5 separate regions of the Homo sapiens genome follow, and all the other regions are linked to region 1. Evidence: promoter capture Hi-C in human tissues and cell types (Jung and others, 2019). All regions are on one chromosome and are shown on one strand. Each heading gives the region's core, a stretch centred on a gene start or on the middle of the fragment in contact. The rest is flanking DNA. Distances are from core to core; before and after follow the strand shown.

Evidence for each region. Contacts are between HindIII fragments. The study calls those that stand out against the background at their distance.
Region 2: a contact is called between a fragment that was not itself captured here and the fragment with the promoter of AP4B1 in region 1, in 1 of the 25 tissues and cell types used here (liver).
Region 3: a contact is called between the fragment with the promoter of BCAS2 here and the fragment with the promoter of AP4B1 in region 1, in 1 of the 25 tissues and cell types used here (hippocampus).
Region 4: a fragment that was not itself captured here is called in contact with the fragment with the promoter of AP4B1 in region 1 in 1 of the 25 tissues and cell types used here (hippocampus).
Region 5: a fragment that was not itself captured here is called in contact with the fragment with the promoter of AP4B1 in region 1 in 1 of the 25 tissues and cell types used here (dorsolateral prefrontal cortex).

The regions. Positions count from the first base shown.
Region 1 is chr1:113,903,404-113,906,103 of GRCh38, forward strand. It overlaps AP4B1 (adaptor related protein complex 4 subunit beta 1), which reads right to left and starts at 1,396. Exons shown (of 10, transcript NM_001253852.3): 1 at 1,202-1,396. The coding sequence starts at 1,314. It overlaps DCLRE1B (DNA cross-link repair 1B), which reads left to right and starts at 1,923. Exons shown (of 4, transcript NM_022836.4): 1 at 1,923-2,372. The coding sequence starts at 2,184. RefSeq lists enhancers at 1,032-1,091, 1,172-1,731, 1,762-1,811. The HindIII fragment of the contact is 11,361 bases long and covers 1-2,700 here.
Region 2 is chr1:114,660,699-114,663,398 of GRCh38, forward strand. The region is part of intron 1 of DENND2C (DENN domain containing 2C); the gene reads right to left. Among named protein-coding and RNA genes, the nearest start is that of DENND2C, 8.0 kb to the right of the region's middle. The HindIII fragment of the contact is 3,641 bases long and covers 1-2,700 here.
Region 3 is chr1:114,580,169-114,582,868 of GRCh38, forward strand. BCAS2 (BCAS2 pre-mRNA processing factor) reads right to left here and starts at 1,447. Exons shown (of 7, transcript NM_005872.3): 1 at 1,331-1,447; 2 at 1,131-1,223. The coding sequence starts at 1,423. It overlaps DENND2C (DENN domain containing 2C), which reads right to left. Exons shown (of 21, transcript NM_001256404.2): 21 at 2,682-2,700. It overlaps LOC105378914 (a long non-coding RNA gene), which reads left to right and starts at 1,675. Exons shown (of 3, transcript XR_947719.4): 1 at 1,675-2,231; 2 at 2,357-2,470. The HindIII fragment of the contact is 13,820 bases long and covers 1-2,700 here.
Region 4 is chr1:114,745,509-114,748,208 of GRCh38, forward strand. All of the region lies in intron 2 of CSDE1 (cold shock domain containing E1), which reads right to left. Among named protein-coding and RNA genes, the nearest start is that of CSDE1, 11 kb to the right of the region's middle. The HindIII fragment of the contact is 6,146 bases long and covers 1-2,700 here.
Region 5 is chr1:114,721,678-114,724,377 of GRCh38, forward strand. It overlaps CSDE1 (cold shock domain containing E1), which reads right to left. Exons shown (of 20, transcript NM_001007553.3): 16 at 2,206-2,325. Among named protein-coding and RNA genes, the nearest start is that of NRAS, 6.3 kb to the left of the region's middle. The HindIII fragment of the contact is 4,950 bases long and covers 1-2,700 here.

The DNA of each region.
Region 1 (2,700 bases), core at 146-2,645:
ATTCAACTTTTACATCCAGGGACATGCTCTTGGGACATAATCTTGAAGAAGGTGTGGTCTCAAACCTCTAGGAACTTCAAATCTATTAATGAGCCAGATGAGAATACCGTTAATTACAGTATGATAGATAAGTACTTAAACAGAAGTATTGTACAAGGTGTAGAGGGGATTCAGAGGTCTGACACTGGCAGGAAGTCAGAAAATGTTTCTTCACAGAGGAAGTAATACTTTAGCTGAATGAGCAGGAGCTCACTAGGCAGATGTAATAGCAAGGTAAAGATACATGCTATGAGGTAAGTAGACATGAGCAGGAGCAGCACACATTTTTTTAAGAGTCTGTAGGTAGTTGAATTAACAGCTTGTTCCTTGGGTGCTGTGATAAGTTTGGACTTTATTGTTTCTCAGACTGGTCTCCTACTGGAACCAACTGAAATGTTTATTAAAAATACAGATTCCTGGGTTCCCTCCCACCCTACTGAAATCAGAATCAGTCCCTGGACTGGATGACAAAAAGCACCCCAAGGGATTTTTATGCATAGTAAAGTTTGTGAACCATAGCTGTAGGCAAGAGTTATGTGTTCAGGTATGTATAATGGAAAAATTCTGTCTCAAATGAGGCAAAGTGGCCTACTAGTAAGCTGCTGCAATTGCTTTATTGATGAAGGCCTGGACCAGAACAACAATGCTAATAAACAAGAGAGGATGGATATTTAGAATTATGAATTCAAACCATCTGACATAAGAAGTGAGAGATCAGGTGTCCTCAAGGTTGGCTCCCACGCATAGTCGGCTGCTGGTGGCATTCATCAACACAAATGTAAGCTGAACAGGTTTGAGGAAGACGGAAGAATGTCCGGGCTATTTCGGACATACTTTTGATAAACCACGCACGTGGAAATGCCAAGCAGGCAGTGGGATACGTGGGTCTGAAGCTAAAAAAGGAAGTCTGTACTAGCTATATTATAGATCCAAGAGTCACCAGTAATTGCTCAAGCCCGTGATATGGAGGAAACTACCCAGCTGAGTAAAAGATGCTGCAGAGGGGAGACTGACATGGTACTCCAAAGCAGCAGGACGAAGACCGAACCATATAACTGCCACGTGTGAAAGCTAATTCACCCTTTCAGAGAGACTGGGGCTAGTGAGCCCTGATGGGGATTGCAAAGGGAGCAGTTAGCACGCGAAGGGAGGTAGGTGATACCTAATCACTCGCTGGATGACATTCCGGTAGCGCAGCCTATCAGCTTGAATGTGAGGATTGCACAGAGCCTTCTTCAGCTCCTTCACCACGTCCTCGGAGCCAAGGTACGGCATCTTCCTAAGAGTCACAGGGCAGCTCCCACAGCTCCCACGGTAACTCGAGGGCTCCTTCTCGTCCTGATGTGGGAGCCTGAGTAAAGGAAATATGAGTCAGTGAAAATACAAAAGGCGAGATCTCGCCTCAGGCTCGGCTTCCGTAGGGCCGGCACGCTGGCCCTGACACACTTCCACGCCCTCCGCGACACCGCGAGCCCCACCCTAGGCTCTTCAGGCCCTACCGTCGGCCGGCAGGCCGTTCGCCCCGCCCACAGATCGCTCCCGCTACTTCTAGGTCCTCCGCCGGATTTCCAGCGCCGCGTCCGACTGACCGCAGACCCCTCCCTCTCCAGTTCCAGCCTTAATTCCCCCTCCACGCCGTTCTCATCGCGGATAGGCCCAATCTTGCTTTCTGCGGAAGTCCCGCCCCCTTGTCAAGAGACCAAACAGAAGACCGCTGCCGGTCTCCCCGCGAGCGAGCGCTAAGCGTAGTCCCGACTCCGACCTTAGGATGCCCTTCCCCCAACCTCTCACTCTCCAGGCGCAGCTGCGCGGCTCCCTCTGGTGGAGCTGCGGCGGGCAATCGGAAATCGGCTACTTTGGCCTGTCTCCTCCCTGCAGCGCGCGCTTTGAGTGCCCGGCTCGGCCTCCGCTCCCGCGCGGTTGGGAGTGTCCAGCGCCCTCCGCGATTTGGGCTCCAGCGGGCAGGGTGACTTCCTTTTTCTGCCCACTCTGGTAACTTATTGCTCTGCTGGGCTCTTTCCCTTAGGGTCTCTGGCCCTGTTCTTGCCCCAGCATGACTTTTATCGGGACGCCGTTGTGGAAGCCTCACGCAGGAGCCCTGCCCCCGTGGAGAAGATCCCACTGGTGACTCCAACCCTACCACCATGAATGGGGTCCTGATCCCCCATACGCCCATCGCAGTGGACTTCTGGAGCCTGCGCCGGGCTGGCACCGCACGTCTCTTCTTCTTGTCTCACATGCACTCGGACCACACCGTGGGCCTGTCTAGCACCTGGGCCCGGCCCCTCTACTGCTCCCCAATTACAGCCCACCTCTTGCATCGTCACCTACAGGTATGGGGCTGGAGTCGGTCTCCGAGAGCTGGTCCAGGCATCTGGGTTGGGACTTCAACCTGTCATTCTTGGAGTCATAGAATGGGGGCCACGAAAACTGATTTGGAAGTTGTTTGAACCCAAAAATGCATCTTTAACCCAGAATAGGAACGTGTTTTCGAAGTGACCAACTTGAGATAGTTAGCCATAAGTTGAGGAGATATTTTAATCCAGCCAAGGAAACTATTCCTACCTTTATAAGTAAGCTAGGCCGATGTTTCCCAAACTTGCCTTTTTTTTTTTTTTTTTTTTTTTTTTTTGAGACGGAGTCTCGCTCTGTTGCCCAGGC
Region 2 (2,700 bases), core at 135-2,634, 760 kb after region 1:
TTGCTATTCAATTGCTCATAATTATTTAATAGTTTTTTCCCAGTTTAATTTCTGAGGATCAACAATTTATTTTTTAAAATTCTGTAAATATACCCATACAGCTGTGGTTAAATTTAAACAACAAGAAAATCCTGCCGGGCGTGGTGTCTCATGCCTGTAATCCCTGCACTTTGGGAGGCCGAGGCAGGCAGATCACAAGGTCAGGAGTTTGAGACCAGCCTGACCAACATGGTGAAACCCTGTCTCTACTAAAAATACAAAAATCAGCCGGGCATGGTGGCTCGCACCTGTAATCCCAGTTACTCAGGAGGTTGAGGCAGGAGAATCGCTTGAACCCGGGAGGCGGAGGTTGCAGTGAGCCGGTATTGTGCCACTGTGCACCTGGGCGACAGAGCGAGACTCCGTCTCAAAAAAAAAAAAAAAAAAAAGAAAAGAAAATCCTCCTTATTATCTTCACTACCTAAAAGCACAGTACAACTTACAATATCAGCGACCCCATCGATTTGGATTGCAAAATCTGCACCAGACTCTACCCATCTTGCAAGCACTGCTGAAATGTCCAATAATGGTAAAGAATAGAGCTATGTCATCACTAAGAAGTATAATTTTTAATTTCCAGCTGATTTAGCATCAAAAATCATGAGCACAACTTCCATGAATTATAGATGAATACTTTTTTCAAGAGATATGTAGCCATTTTTCCCTTATGCCACTGATACACAACTAAATGAGACAATAATCTTTCTCAGGAATGATTCTTGAATAAATAGGAAACTGAGATAACTTTATCTCTTTTTCTTTCTTTGAAAATATTTGAAAGGGCTTATTTAAAAGTCCAGTATGCTATGTTTCCAAGAATCTTTTTAACTTTAAAGGTTTTTAATTTTCATTTGCAACATTATATGAAGACATGGGTCTGTCATTTTACTCAGATTTTGCCCATTTGACAAAGCCATATTTTAAATAATCTTCATTGAAAGTCTTAATAGTTTTTCTCAGGTGACCATTTCCCTCAATATTTTTGTTCTTCCAGATCCAGTCATTGCACATACCTCTGTATTTTTTACTTCGTTTTTTTCTTCTAATAATGAAACAACAAATTTGAAAGGCAAATTGATCCAATTTGATTTAAAAATACAATTATCACCAGACTCTTGAAAATATCACACTTGACGAATGCAAAGTTCAAAAATAAAATTTGGTTCAACGACTCACCATTTTTAACAACAGCAGACAAAATTCTCCCACTCTTTGCTCAACCCTGATTTATGTCAATAAAACTATACATTGATAGCTATCACATTACACTCATGATTAAATTGACCATCACTCTAATTCACATAATTTTCCCCTTTTGTTCCAATTACCCCTTATAGTTTAAATAGGGCCCAGGGAAAAGGAAATTTTCAGTAAATACTGTTGTGGAGCAGCCTATGTCATTTCCTCACAGAAGGCTCTATTATTATAGCCTTAATAGATCCTTATTTAATCAGAATATCAAAGAGTACAGATAAATATTTAAATACAAAATTATGCTTTACACTGCTAAGTAACCAATTCAAACACATCCCACACAGCTGGGAGATTTTGTTTTTTACTCCAACAGAAAAAAAGACAGAGAAAAATGCAAATCCCTTTTAAGTAGCAGCAAAAATAACTCTCTCTCTCCCCCACCAATCTGTCCCTGAATTTTAACATCCAAACAAAAAATCCGCAAATATGTCATTTCTATGAATTCAAACTTGAAGGAAAAAAAATAATAATTTCTCTCCATATCCTTTGTTGTAAATATTTATCACTGCTATGAAAACTACGAAAGTTAGACATTTAACTTTAAAAAGTACAGCACAACCTTCAAATAATATAAATGGATTAATATTGCCAGAACTAAATGCTAAAAACTCTGTTTTCACGCCACTAACCAGAAGTCTAAGATTCATAAGAAAAAAAAAAAAATCTTGAATTTATTCCTCAAAAATAGGGGCCAGGCATAATGGCTTCGTACCCCCAGCGCTTTGGGAGGCTGAGATGGGAGGATCCCGAGGTCGGGAGTTCAAGCCCAACCTAGACAACGTATTGAGACCCCATCTCTACAAAAAGTTTTTTAAAAAATTAGCCAGTCTTGGTGGCGTGCACCTGTAATGCGAGCTAACTGGGAGGCTGAGGTGGAGGGATCGTGTGAGCCCAGGGGTTGGAGGCTGCAGTGAACTATGATTGTGCCACTGCACTCCAGCCTGGGTGACAGAGAAAGACCAAGAAAAGAAAAGGAAAAGGAAGAAGGAAGAGGGAAAAGGAAAGGGAGGAAGGAAAAAAATGGGTAAATACCTGGAATAGATAGATGTGAAAAAGTCAGTCCTTTAAATTTTTTTCTCTTATCATCATCTACTTAATCCTTCAGTCTTATAATTTGCTATACTGCTTATAAAGTGAAGACATTATCATGTTTTCTTTTCTTTAGGATAAAACTTATTCATTCAGGGCAGAAGAAAAAGAGAATAAAATTCCATCCTGTCCAACCCTCTGGGAACCAGTGCAGAATACCCCTTCAAATTTATCTTTTATTTCACCCAGGTTTCAATGTCCCCACTTTCACTGAAGCGAAAAGATCAATGTTTTATTGATTCAGTAAAGAACACTGAATATCAAAAAACATTTTTCAAACATACTTTTTTATTCTGACTCTGTACAAGTTAATCTATT
Region 3 (2,700 bases), core at 197-2,696, 680 kb after region 1:
ACACCTCAGCCTCCTAAAGTGCTGGGATTACAGGTGTGAGCCACCACACCCAGCTAAATACTGCCTTTTAATAATACAATCCTTTCATAAATAAACGATTAGGTATAATGGGAAAAAATCCTCCAAGCTGTACATACTGAAATACTTGAATCCAATAATTTAGAAATGATATCTTACATTTCATTTAGCTAACTAGACCCTAACTAGAATCCTGGGTGTACTTCAAGGTTATACATTTAAAATAGTATCATACTCAATGTGTGGAGTAGAACAGCATCTGACTCCTTAGGCAATCATGGACACTCCCTTCTCTAATCCTCTTGTCCTTATACATACCCTCCGCTATAGGTCCTTTACATATTATTACACATTTATACATACTATTGTAAACTTTTTGTTTTATATATCTAGCTCCTCACTGTATTGTATTTTTCTGTATTCAGAAACCCTATCTTTTTTGGAGAGGATGTTTGTCTTAAATAAAGAAAAGAAAAATTAAAAGAAAACAAAATATATTAAAAAAGAAACCCCATATATCTCTATGATCTCAGAATCTAGAATGGCACCTAGCACTTGTAAAGTATTCATATCAGTGAAAATTATTGCCTACATTAATCAGAAATGTGTTAATAAAAACATCGGATAGATTACAGAAAAAAGGAGAAGGCTGAGAAAAAAGTAGTATACACTTGGATATGGTTTGTCCTTTCAGTCGTATCACATACATTTGGTAAATAACTAGACTTTAATATGCCACTCTCCAGTGGTTCTAAAGAGCTTAGGTAATTAGGCTTATACATATTAAAAAACCCTAGATCACTTGCTGTAGAGTGAATCTTGGCAGGAGAGGGTCCCTTTGAGAATTTACGCATGGATCCTATCTCAAAGAATGGTAGCCACAAATTTTTGCATTAAGTGAGTTGTGGAGCCCCAGAAAGTCTTCCTATGGATCTTAGAATAAGAACCTCGGAGAAGACTTATCTATCTAGTTGTTTTCAATAGACTGACACCTATACAGTAGGTAAGTAGTAGCTATGCAGGCAATGGTTAAAACTGGAATTTAAAGCTCTCAATCCAAAATAAAGGTTCACAGGAATTCTCGTTCACACCTAGGCTCAAGACATACTTACTTCAAAGGCAGAATAATCCGGGGCTGTCAGGTAGCTCAGGTAGTTCTTAGTAGGTCGGTATCTGCGAGTTTCCTCCTCCACCAGCGCTGCAGCCTAAGAAAGAGAATAGGGACCAGGGTAGAAGTGGCAAATTGTAACATGTTTCTTTCAGTACCGAGCCAGCTAGCAGTGAGTCAGCTACAAAGACACCCCGCACTCACCGCTTCCCGCACACCAGGGGCTTCATAACCTTGATCAAAATACGGCAGCGCATCCACCACAACCTCTCCAGCCACCAAACCTGTGCCCGCCATTCTGAGGACCTCAGGTTTGCCTGCGTTTTCTGCGTCTGCGTAAACTCAGTTATATTTAATTACGCCGGCGCCTGACACTGATGTAATCACGTTCCCTCCGTATTGACGTTAGTGCATGCTCAGTTGCTAATTTTGAAGGCGGGTCCGCCCGGTATCTAGAAATTGCCGGGCTGGTTTGTTTTGGGCGGACGTGACGTAACGTCTTGGCTTGTCTGCGTCAGCGAAAGGCCTCAATTTCCTGTCCTCTGCTTACTGCCCCTTTTTTTGCCTGCGAATGGCGGCGATTTGAAGTTGGGGCTTTTCGTTTCCTCCAAAACATTGATATCTGGAAAGGGAGCCCCTTAACACTTTTGGAGGGAACTGGCTGCAGCATTTGGCGGGGAGAGATAAACTGGTTTCCCACCTCTGCTTACTCCCACCTTCTCCCCTTAATCTTCTCTTCCTCTGTGCGAGACTTTTTTCCTTTTTTATTGTAGACACAGGGTCTTTGTTCTGCTGCCCAGGTTGGAGTGCAGTGGCGTGATCATAGCTCACTGCAGCCTCAACCCCCCGGGCCCAAGCGATCCTTCCACCTCAGCCTCCCGAGTAGCTGGGCCTAGAGGTGCACACCACCATGCCTGGCTAATTTTTAATTTTTTTTGTAGAGATGGAGCCTTTCTATGTTGCCAAGCCTAGCCTCGAACTCCTGGCCTCCCAAAATGTGGGGAATACAGGCGTGAGCCACTGCACCCCGGGTCATTCCTCTTTTACTTCCTTGCTGTACCCCAACTATCCTTCCCCCTCGGTGCCCTTAAAACCTTTGCATTGGGTAAGTACATTTTTTAAAGAGACTCTAGAATTGGGCGCCAGTCTCCAATTAAAATTGTGAAGCTTTATGGTCTGCGTATCAAAAGGAACCTCAGTTCCTTAAAAATCCTGTCATTTTGCCTTTAGGACTTAACGGTAATAGAATGGCATTCCTCACTGCCTCCGAACCACTCAAGCTGCTGCCCATGCACTCTCTTCTGCATGGCTCCTGGACTAAGCAGCCTCCCTTTGATTAAGCAGGTAAAAACCAAATAAAGTTGTCAGACTATATGCCCTGCCCAGTGTGCAGTCTAGACCCAGCCTTTGTCTGCCAAGAGCCTGGAAATGTTGACCTCCGTTATTAAGCCTGGTCAGTCTAAGACTAATTCTTATTACCGAAGTACCATTAGGTAAATGTGCTAGCTATAGATTTAAGTGACATAAAAGATCTTAAAGAATTCTCCAAGGGATCTGTGGGGGGTTTATGTATT
Region 4 (2,700 bases), core at 115-2,614, 840 kb after region 1:
CCATCTTAAGGGCACAGCGCTAAAAATGGCAAATGTGGGAACAGAATCCAGTTCTGACTCCATTCTTAACCACTGCCTTATTCATTCAACCACAATTAAGTTCATACAATGCATCAGCATTATTTTAGGTTCTACTCATATAGTAGGTAACACAACAGACAAATATCTCCAGCCTCATAAAGTTTAGACCTTCTACCCTTTTCTACATATTTACTTTTAAACTGAAAAAGTCATTGACAAAATTAGTCCTCCTTTAATAAAAGCAGAAATGGAACAAATCTCAGGTCAAATTTAAACTTCATTTGTAACTCAAGAAATTGATTAAAGTTCCCTGAAGAACATAAAAGTCAAAAGACTGGCTTTCAGTCCTGACTCTCAAGTACTTTTAACATCTCTGGGATTTTTTCCTCAAAAGTAAAGTGGGAGCACCTAACTGGTTTCCAAGTTCCTTTGGGGAGAGGGGGTGGAAATCTATGCTTTGTAATTTATTACAACATCTAAGTTGTTTTTCCCCCCTAATCTGGTCTGCTTGGCTTCTACTGATTGACAATCAATTTGGAAAAGGTAGCCTATTTCACCATAAGATCTTTAGAAAACTACTCTGTATTCTCAGACATACCTCCCCTTGACTTCCACTGTTTCTTCCAATTTTCTGAACACAACCATTTTTAACACTAATTGCTGTCTTCTGGATAGGTTCTAAGTAATTATTCATTAAAGTGCATTTCACTACTATTCTTAATGTACCCGACCAATATAAAGTACTGAGTGATTACACTCCTTGATTCTGTAGACTGAAGTTTTATAACTTTGTAAAACTAAAACACATCCCCATCATTTCTTCACAAATCACATTAGCGAAATCAGGTTTTCTTTCAGTTCCTCCGTAATGGATCGTTTGTTCCCAAATAAAAAAACTATAACCTAATGCTTTTAAAATGCCTTCTGTTGGTTAATCTAGTATTCCAATTTGGTGACTAATTTTAAATTATCAGACTCTTTGTAGTTTATCTTTTAATCATTCATTCTCCTACCTTAACACCTGTCTCACAGAGTTGTTGAGATGGTTAAATGAGTTGCTGCACGTAAAAAGCCTAAAATAAGTGCTTACGTAGCACATAGGTACTCACAGAACTACTCATTAGGTCTCTGAAAAAAGCAGGGCGAGGATAGCATCTGGCAGCATACACCTGGAGACTTCTCTAAAATCAGTCTCTTACTAACTGCTATCCATCCAACATTTCTCCATATTGACCATTATGCTATCATGAGCTAGTCTGCCAAGTTATTTATTCACTGGCTCTGGGGTTTTTGCTAGGGATGAAAAGTAAGCTCAATAGTTCCCACATCTGACTGAAAAATCAGGACATTTACAGTTCCTGTCATAGGTCTCTATTTGACTACTATCACACACCTAGCAACTAGCACCCTAGCAACCGCCAAGTAATCCTGTTATTTTCTCACTCATCTGGGGCCTCAGTTTTCTCTTGCTTTGCTATGTTTCAAGTATGAAAATTATTGCATTCAGCAGAAAAAACTAGGAGCGCGACAGGAATTTTCTAGTTTTGCTTTTCTCTTGTCTGTCACCTTTAGACTAACCTGGATCAAATCATTCACCAAACAATTCAGGTCTATTTTCACATCTCAAACAAATGCTTTATAAGCCTTATTCTTTCTTGCCATTTTATGGCTAATTCTACCCTTCTATATATATTTGTTCCTAATTACGTACTATTTTTACTGATTTTACAAAACCCCCCTTTAAAATCTGGGGGTTCCATTGCATTACCAAATCTGTTTTCTTAGCTGTGTGCCCCCTTTAACTGAACTATTTCACAACTGTACAACCACAGCCATGTTTTACTGCCAATAATCTTCATCCCAATTGTGGTTTCTTTGTACATATGTAAACATGTAATTTTTAGACAGCTATGGATGCATTTATATATTAAAATGTTCATGTAGTAAACTAATATTCAGAATACAAAGATTACACTAAACAAAAAGGACTTCGTTAAATCTATTTCTATAAATCATGTCAATGAAATGAAAGCCTTAATATCTAATCTTGCCAGGCACGGTGGCTCATGCCTGTAATCCCAGCACTTTGGGAGGCCGAGGCGGGTGGATCACAAGGTCAGGAATTCAAAACCAGACTGGCCAACACGGTGAAACCCCGTCTCTACTAAAAATACAAAAATAAGCCAGGCATGGTGATGCGCGCCTGTAATTTCAGCTACTCAGGAGACTGAGGCAGAAGAATCACCTGAACCTGGGAGGCAGAGGCTGCAGTGAGCCAAGATCACCCCACTGCACTCCAGCCTTGGCGACAGAGCAAGACTCTGTCTCAGAGAGGAAAAAAAAAAAAATCTAATCTTTTATGCTTCAGAACATAAAATTGTGGTTTCAATTTGTGTTAATCTTCCCTATCTAATCCAACAGAATCCACAACAATTAGTCTAAAATTATTTTTTAAAAATCAGCTAAGGTAAGAAGAAACAAATAGAAAAACTAAATGCTACAATTACCTTAAAATTAAATAACAGTGTCTGTTTATGAGACATAGATAATTTTACTATAGTTTTTAGTTGTTAAGGAATAATTCTAGTGCACAGCAAGGTCACTGACACTATTACATAATCCTTCAATAAATTGGAAATAAAGTCCTAAGCGCTTCTTGAAATAGCAGTGAAGCTTTTG
Region 5 (2,700 bases), core at 69-2,568, 820 kb after region 1:
TTCCTGGGCTCGGGTGATCCTCCCACCTCAGCTCCTGAGTCGCTGGGACTACAGGCACACACCATGACTGGCTAATTTTTGCATTTTTTGTAGAGACAGGGTTTTGCCATGTTGCCCAGGCTGGTCTCAAACTCCTGGGCTCAAGTGATCTGCCCACCTTGGCCTCCCGAAGTGTTGGGTTTACAGGTGTGAGCCACCACACCTGACTTTTTTTTTTTTTTTTGAGACGGAGTCATGCTCTGTTAACCAGGCTGGAGTTCAGTGGCATGATTCAGCTCACTGCAACTTCCGCCTCCCAGGTTCAAGTGATTCTCCTGCCTCAGCCTCTGAAGTAGCTGGGATTATAGGCACCCACCATGATACCTGGCTAATTTTTGTATTTTTAGGAGAGACAGGGTTTCGCCATGTTGGCCAGGCTGGTCTCGAACTCCTGACCTTCAGGTGATCTGCCTGCCTTGGCTTCCCAAAGTGCTGGGATTACAGGTGTGAGCCCCTACTCTCGACCCCAGCTGACTTTTAATTTTAAATACAGGAACCAAAAAACTTTGAGGAGATAATCCAAAGAGATCAAGTCATGGGAAGAGTGATTAGAGGAAGCTGGTCTGACCTCATGCAATATCAATAATTACCATTTATGATGCACATACTGATTCATACTTTATAGAACCATCTAAGGCTGAAGGTATTACCATTTTAAAGATGAAGAAACTGAGCTAGCAAAGATTTAAGTTATTTGTCCAAGATTATATGCTAGAACGGTGTCCAGATCTAGGTCTGCCCAACTTCAAAGTCTTAGTATAAGTTACAGTTGTGTTCCTGAATAAAAGAGCTAGTTCTTACCAAGTGGGAAAATGTAATCTGTCTAGTCCCGGGCTTAGAGATGCCTAAACAAAACCCTTGCTTTGGACTATATCCCACCAGGCTTAGAGATGCCTAAATAAAACCCTTGCTTTGGACTATATCCCACAGCCAGTGCTGAAGAATGAGTGGACTGGGAAGTGGGGATGGAAAAGGAAGTAAAAGCAGCACGTTAGGAGATGGAAGGGCAATTTGATATCATATTATGAGTTAAAGTTAGTAGTCCATACTCCCATGGCCTTTTTAGGGGTGTGATGTCATGGCATTTGTTTAAAAATTCATATTTAGAGGTGGGAGAACAGTGGTTTTATGTAGAACAGAAATTCTAAGAATCCCATGTGGTAAAGGAATAGGTTATCAAGGTTCATTTCCTTCTCCCAAATGACCTGCTATTCAGCACTTTATGTTCGCTGACTCTTAGATGATGCAAGGACTTTATTCTCTTTGTAAACCAAGCCATCATCTTTTCTTTTTAAAATTTTTTTATTATTAGTTTTTTTAATAGTAGAGACGGGGTTTCACCATGCTGGCCAGGCTGGTCACGAACTCCTGGCCTCGTGATCCGCCCGCCTCAGCCTCCCAAAGTGCTGGGATTACAGGCGTGAACCACCACGCCCGGCCTACCAAGCCATCATCTTTGGTTGGAATACTCAAGCCCTCTCATCTACTCCACATCATGTAATTCTGCTATCCTAATCATCTACAGAGTTCTCTCCTATTTCTATCATGTATTTATTTTATGCATACAGATCATACAAAGTTGGCCTTTCTGATGGTGACTGTTGGGGGAACAGCGGCACTGGAACTCTGGGAATTCTTGAAGATAGATGGGGAAAAAAGAAGAAGAAAGTAGAGAATGAAAGGAAGCCTGAGCTAGAAACGAGAAATAGGATCCTCATAGAACTCTAGCTATTAAGAAACAGATTATGTACATATGTGTAGTGTAGGGGGGAAAAAAACAGTAAACTTTTACAGGAAGCAAAAATACAGAACTGAATGCTTACTGATTTAAATACTAATGAAGGAACTGAATATTTGATTATCATACACTCAACAGTAAAAGCTTTGGTTATCAGAGTTTGTTGTTAAGTCTATCTCAATATAACTCATAGTTGCTCATGTATCAGTCATGTGCTCACAAAGCAGTCACGTTTTCACTATTTAAACCCAGACTGACCTCATTTTCAAGGGGTATAAAAATAAAAAGCAAGCATGAGAGAGGTCACTTTTCCTTAATTCAGTTTTAAACCTAAAAACAACTGCAATAAGCACCATATTTTAAAACTTTATAGGTGCTCATCTGAAGTTATGGCAAATTTCAAACAGCCTGATAGTGATGATCCTTACCCTCCTCCACAATCTCAATCATTCCTTGGTACTCAGTCTGTGTTGGATCAACACTCCTCAGGGGGCGAATTACTTTGCCAGAGTAAATGGTGGGATCAGCTTCCTCAGTAATGCCATTCACTACAAAACAAAGGCAGGTACATCTTTCAATTTTATTTCATCTCTACTACATAGAAAGACAAGTAAGCAAAAAATAACAGCACAAATGTTAACAGGGTAGGTTGGCTGGCTGCTATTGAAATGGGGTAGGGAACCTGAAGCCAAGTTCTATTTTTAGAACAGCTGCTGGACTTTAAATACTTCTAAACTACCAAAATGCCTGCTTTTCCTAAATAGAATTGTTTAAATAAAATTGTTTAAGGAATTAATAAGTATTCATAAATAAAACATGCCTTGATCTCTTACTTTTTCCAGGTGACCATATGTCATTTTTTAAGAAGCCTTTCCTGGTCTCTAAAATGTAAATCACAATACTTACATACTGTCCTGATTCAT